2 separate regions of the Homo sapiens genome follow, and region 1 is linked to region 2. Evidence: promoter capture Hi-C in 16 types of primary human blood cells and fetal thymus (Javierre and others, 2016). All regions are on one chromosome and are shown on one strand. Each heading gives the region's core, a stretch centred on a gene start or on the middle of the fragment in contact. The rest is flanking DNA. Distances are from core to core; before and after follow the strand shown.

Evidence for each region. The method cuts DNA at HindIII sites, captures the fragments that hold promoters and counts their contacts. A CHiCAGO score of 5 or more calls a contact.
Region 1: a fragment that was not itself captured here is called in contact with the fragment with the promoter of GDAP1 in region 2 in 1 of 17 cell types (fetal thymus); the score reaches 6.1 in fetal thymus.

The regions. Positions count from the first base shown.
Region 1 is chr8:73,892,132-73,895,724 of GRCh38, reverse strand. No RefSeq gene overlaps it. Among named protein-coding and RNA genes, the nearest start is that of LINC01617, 15 kb to the right of the region's middle. RefSeq lists an enhancer at 2,435-2,514. The HindIII fragment of the contact is 572 bases long and covers 1,946-2,517 here.
Region 2 is chr8:74,348,652-74,351,837 of GRCh38, reverse strand. It overlaps GDAP1 (ganglioside induced differentiation associated protein 1), which reads right to left and starts at 1,435. Exons shown (of 6, transcript NM_018972.4): 1 at 1,260-1,435; 2 at 372-564. The coding sequence starts at 1,376. RefSeq lists an enhancer at 1,193-1,422. The HindIII fragment of the contact is 8,708 bases long and covers 605-3,186 here.

The sequences.
Region 1 (3,593 bases), core at 982-3,481, 460 kb after region 2:
TTTGCACTTCACTCACTCTGTATTTCCTATAGACTGATCATGAGATATAGGTCTTGATTACATTCTTTTGGTAAGAGTGCTTAATCTATTACTTCCTAACCACCTTCAGGAAGCACATAATATCTGGCTGTCCCACTTTTACTGACATTAAAATTAATCAATAAATTTATGTGTGTCCGTGTGATTCATCCATTATTAGACTCTTCCTCAACTTTTCAGCTAATGGTTTTAACACGAATTGAAGATCAATGCCAGACTCCATTATTTTACTAGGGTTTGCAAACTTATTATTCTTTAAATCTCTCATTGCTTTTATGTGCAATACATATTTATATTATGTATAGATACGTCTATGTATATAGTTATGTGTTTCATTTTGTCACATTCCTTATTTTGTTGCTCAAACTTATCTTCAGCCAGTAAGATCCCTCTTCAAGGCCAGCTTCTCTAATCCTTTTAAACTGTTATTTTTCATTTCATTTGATACAGCCAATTAAGTAAAAGGAAGCAATATGATGAAGTTTAACATCTACCTCAATGATTCTCAATTTCCACTGGAGTGTGAACTTGAATTCCAGAGTCTGAAGAACGCTCTGTTTTTTTGTTTTCTTTTGTTTGAGACGGAGTCTCGCTCTGTCCCCCAGGCTGGAGTGCAGTGGCGCGATCTCGGCAGCAAGCTCCGCCTCCCGGGTTCGCGCCATTCTCCTGCCTCAGCCTCCCGAGTAGCTGGGACTACAGGCACCCGCTACCGCGCCCGGCTAATTTTTTTTTTTTTTTTTTTTTTTTTTTGTATTTTCAGTAGAGACGGGGTTTCACCGTGTTAGCCAGGATGGTTTCGATCTCCTGACCTTGTGATCCGCCCGCCTCGGCCTCCCAAAGTGCTGGGATTACAGGAGTGAGCCACCGCGCCCGGCCCACTCTGTTTTAAATAACTTACCAAACAGTAAAATTCTTGTTCTACAGAGACGTACCATGTCTATCTTGTGGTTTTATAATTCCTATGTCATATCATAGGAGAATATGTCCCCCAGTCCTATGGTATTATAACATAAAAAGCTATTAGGAGTCTTCCTCCACCTCAAAACCAATGTACATCACCCACACAGCCTTCCATCTTCAGACTCCTAGCATTTTGAAACACTTCTCTCTCTCCTTATTCTTTGACCTCTCAGACTCTCTTTAGGCAATGAAAATGCTCAAATCTCTTTCTAAAATAAGCAAATAAAAAACTAAACTGTTCCCTACTCTTGACTTTGCATTTATCTCATTTCCCACTTTCTTTTCTCAGATTAAGCTTTTTTTTTTTTTTTTTTGAGACAAAGTCTTGCTCTGTTGCCGGGGCTGGAGAGCAGTGAGGTGCCCTGGTGCAAACCTAGCTCACTGCAGCCTTGAATGCCTAGGCTCAAGGGATCCTCCTAACTTAGCCTTTAAAGTAGCTAGGACTACAGGTATGCACCACCTTGCCCAGCTAATTTTTTATTTGTTGTAGATAGAGATGGGGAGAGGGGCCCTCCCTGTGTTCCCTAGGCTGGTCTCAAACTCCTGGCCTCAAGCAATCCCAATCCTCCCCTCCCAGCTGCTTCTTCTCTTTTTTTAGACAGAGTCTTGCTCTGTCGCCCAGGCTGGAGTGCAGTGGCAAGATCTCGCTCACTACTGTAATCCCCGCCTCCCAGGTTCAAGCGATTCTCCTGCCTTAGCCTCCCCCATAGCTGGGATTTCTGGCTCTCGCCACCATGCCCAGCTAATTTTTGTACTGTTTTAGTACAGACGGGGTTTCCCCATGTTGGCCAGGCTGGTCTCAAACTCCTGACCTCAAGTGATCCGTCCACCTTGGCCTCCCAAAGTGCTGGGATTACAGACGTGAGCCACTGCATCTTGCCCCCTCCCTGCTTCTTAAACTGTTGAATTTTAGGTGTGAGCCACCGCACCTGGCTTCAGTTAAGCTTCTTGATGTATCTATTTCTTCAGTTACCAGTTCACGCCACAACTCATTCCAACAGAAAATATGGTACTCGCTACTGAGTACTGATTCCTGAGGACCTTTTTTTGGCTTCTAAATGCTCATGTTCCCCTAGCTTCTGACTTCAGCATCATGTTCTTCTCTTTCCTAATCTGTATTGGGGTGATCTCTTTATTTTCCTGGTTTAAATGTAATCATTTTACTGAATGTGCTGGACTCCATGTGGTGCTGTTGCCTGTTATCCTTTCAAACCTGCTTGATGGGCTTTCTCTGCCCTGGATGAAATCTCAGAAAGTTGCCAGAACTGCTCTAGTCCCTCTATCACAAGAACAGCCTCTTATCAGACATTAAAATGTTCAAGCCATCTAATGTTATCACAATCAAAAACTTCTACTTAAATGAGAGTTTCTCCCCACCTTCTCTCAGCTTAAGGGCCGGAAACTTGTGGTGTAGAATTGTCTGCTGAATATACTGAATATATTCCTTGTAGTAGTGGACATCTGTAGTTTATGTTTCTCTGGCATCTCTTATCTCCTCCCATTTTAGTTTAAGAAGCTTCTTCCTTCTGGGATGTCTCGTTACACGTGACCTGGGCGGGGCTGACCACCCCCACACTGCAGCCACAATGCTGTAAGAGTCAGCCAAGACCTAACCAATCAGAGTAAATACCTCACTTCCTTCATCACTATGATGATTAGTTGAGAGATGGAGCTGATTAAAGCCAATCAGATCTTTGTAGCTAGAACTATCCCTGGGGCTGCTGAGCTGGTAGGAGGGATATGAGCCTGGAGACTGGGGGTTATTTTGTTCACACAGAGACACAGAAAAAGTGGCCCTCCACTTCAGCTAAGCTTCTGTTCCCACAATTTCTTAAGGAATTTATTTTCCCCTCCCTATTTGAATTCATTTGAGATGGGTTTTACAACTTACACTTGAAAAATACCTGACTGAAATAGATGACCTATAGGAAACTTGAAAATCTCAAACATGTCCAAAAGGGAATTCTTTTTTCTTCCTCTTCTACTTTCATTGCCTCCATTTCTACTAACTCCTCTATTTTCAAACCAGAAATCTAGCACTCAACTCTTTCCTCCTCCTCCTTCCCTACAAACAACAGATCTCTCAGTCCTGTCTGCTCTCCCTCCTGTCGCTAGAGCCCTTCCCTTCCTTTCCATACATGTCCTAGTCCATCCTCACTTTCTCACTCCTTGGCAATAGCTTACTTTCCTGATTTTTCTTTGCTGACTTTACCTGATCAAATCTGTTCATCCACTAGAACAATCATTCTAAAACACAAGTCTGGTTTATTGTTTTTGTTTTTGTTGTTGTTGTTTGTTTTTTGAGATGAAGTCTCGCTCTGTCGCCCAGGCTGGGATACAGTGGCATGATCTCGGCTCACTGCACCCTCCGCTTCCCGGGTTCAAGCGATTCTCCTGCCTCAGTCTCCCAAGTAGCTGGGATTACAGGCACGCACCACTATGCCTGGCTAATTTTTGTAGTTTTAGTAGAGACGGGGTTTCACCATGTTGGCCAGGCTGGTCTCAAACTCCTGACCTCAGGTGATCCACACTCCTCAGCCTCCCAAAGTGCTGGGATTACAGGCGTGAGCCATTGCACCCAGCCTGGTTTACCA
Region 2 (3,186 bases), core at 186-2,685:
TAAGGTGAAACCATTTGGTATATTAGATGAAATCGTCACAGTGCACATTTAGAATATTATGAATTTAAGACTAAGAAATCACCAACACAAACCACACATTTGCAGTTTTTTGCAAGTGAATTTTTTTAAGTTTCAACATTAACATTTGTATTTTGCATTAAATTATTTTAAATAGCATTACACTAGCCTATACAAAATTTGTTATTGACCTATTTGATATTTGTGTGCTTATGGAAATGGAAAAGGTTTTTAATCCCAAACCACCATCATGACACAAGAGAAAGAGAGAGAGGAGAGAGAGAAAAAGAGAAAGGGAACACATAGTTGTGTTGAAAGTAAATCCAAGAAATCGCAAGTAGCCTTAACATTACCATCCAGGAAAGTCTGTTCAAGATAATCAATGATCTGAGTGGCCTCACAAATTATGTTTTCCCCGTGGATAAGGACAGGCACTTCTCCAGTTGAGTTCAAACGCATAAACCAAGGCTCATTGTGCTCACTCAAGGGCAGACTTACATCATGTTCCTCGCACTTCAATGCCTTTTCAGCAATTACCAAGCGCACCTGGAAGAGTTCACACTGGTTACTACAACACATGTAAGCTTTCAATTAAATGACTTCCCTGGACACCGCTAAGCAGCCTTTCTGGGCTTCCCTGTGTTACCGACATTTTCAACAGTCGTTTTAACAATTCCTATTCCTGGAATTAACAAGTAAGGAAAGAACAATACTCAACAAATTAAGAGAAGAACACAAAATAAGTAATGAAATGATTCTGACTGTATTCATTAAACAGTCACCCTCCTCATCACTACCACTTTCTCGGTGTCCTAAACCTGATTATGGGTCCTCCCCAGACAAGAACCTGACATGTAGGTACATCAGCTCTTGCTGAAGACAGTGAATGCGAGAGAGCAAAAGAAGAGATCGCAGATTATGAGGGTCCACAAAGGCACCTCCCTCTGCCTCTCTCCGAAGACCAGCAGGCAAGGCCTCCAGACCAAATACTGAAAATGATGCTTTTTTGTCGCATTTCGCGAGAGGCGGAGCCTGGGCCATAGCCACATAGGATCATCTCCGATCGATTCTCCCCGCTCCCCACCCGGGCGCGTCCCCGCCTGGAGGGAGCGCCTGCCCGGGGTCAGGACACTGGAGGCGGATTTCTAGGTGGACCGGCTTCCCTGGGCGGGACTCAGAAGGAGCTGTCCCAGTGCTGAAGCCCGATCCGCGCCACCCTCCGCCGCCAAGGCCTGTTGTACCTTTTGAGAGCTGAAGGAATGCGTCCAATGGTACAGAATGAGCTTAACCTCCGCGTCGGCCTTGCCTTCCGCCCTCAAGGGCGGGCTCCCTCTCTGCTCTTCCTGCCTCTCAGCCATCTTGGGGTGCGCGAGCACGGGTGCGCCCAGCCTGTCCGCCCTGGACTTCTCCCTCCCACACTGCCCCGCAAGGCGTTTCCGGGTTTTGAGGGGTACCTGCCGGAAGGAGGGCGCGCGGCCCGCTGGGAAATGTAGTTTCGCCGGCGGCAGAGTCTGCGAACACGCGGGGTCTGCGACTGGAAAGCCCCTGGCAAGCCTGGGAGTGCACCTGGGAGGTGCAATTGAACGGTTGTTTTTTGGGTTTGTTTTTTTTTTTAGAAGAAAAAATAAAAAATATGAGACCCTGGTTATGAAGGGCAGTAAGGAAGAATGATGATAGCAAATTACTCTTCGGTTTGGAGGTTGCTCAGGTATAAAAGCAGCAATTTCCCAAGATACTGAGGGTTGCTCTTGGAGCCTGTTCCTTTGTTGGAAAGGAAGTTCCGGTCGACAAGCAAAGCAACAGGAAAAGGATCTATGAGCTTTCATTAGAAGATGCTACTATGACATTAGTGGACTAATTCCACAAATTTGACTAACTGCTGTAGATTAGAGAATAGTCTTGTATAAACAGTAAGTACTTGATTTTGATAATTAAACTGTGCTTTGTAAAAGAAAAAAAAATACCACTATGGAGTCATGCAAAAAAACTGTTTTTGTCATAAACAGCTAATAAACAATGGCGATATAAAATAGCCTAGTTGTTAAACACAAAAATTCTACAACAGTACTGCCTAAGTTCATATCCTGGTTTTTCCATTTTCTAAGTAAGAATAATAATTTTATTGTTTCCCTCATAAGATTTTTGTGAAAAATTAATAATAAAATGTTAAACACTCAGAACACCCTGTCACGTTGTAGGCACTCAGTCTTAGTCACAGGTTCAGTTGTCTTATAAACATTCTGTTATAACCATAGTCAGAATCATAATTTTATATTAGTCTAGTTATTATTGTATGTCTTTAAAAATTTGGCATCATATAGTAAGTTGATTTTAAAAATCTCTTTCAGTAATATGTATAAATATGACCATAGAATAAATGCCTGTATAATTTATCTGGCAAATATTTATTGAGCACCTACACTGTTCCAGACATTGTGCTGGCTCCTGGTAATATAAAGATGTGTGAAATCTAATATCTAACACTCAAGATATAATCTGGCAGTAGAGACGACCAAGGAAATAGACAATCACAATAAAGATGAGAACTGTCTTAGGGTGAACACAGAGTACTATGAGAAAGGAGGGGCAGGCAGCCAACCCAGGTCAGAGAAGGGCCCCTGGAAAAGACAAAATCTCATGAGGTTCTTCCTTGCCTTTACAGTACTTCATTTGTTACTCTCTGTAATTCTTTCATAATTTTTTAAGATTTCATAATGTCTTTTATATCCTTCAGTTAATTCAAGTGCTATAGAAAAGGTGAATTCCTTGCCAAAATTGTTTTTATCAGTTCACACTTAAGAGTAAGAGCGGAAAGAGGAAAACTTTGAAATCGGACAGAGTGGGGTTTAAATTCTAGCTCTACCCTAACTTGAGCTTTCTTGAGCTTTGACTTCATTGTGTGTAAAAAATGGATACATAAAAATTATATGCCTACCCAGATGGCTGTGGGAATTCAAGAAAGGATATATATAAAGCACCTAGGGTATTGCCTGGAATGTAGCCATTGATAAAAACATATGTGTAAAAGCCCCTTCACTGACATTAGGAGGGCATTATATTACATTTCATCCTCTCTCTGTAGGTCTCAAAATTTTTACAACTACCCATATAATCCTCCTCTCCCATTCCTCTTCAGAACTTCATTTTTTAATTATCCACCTTCAGATT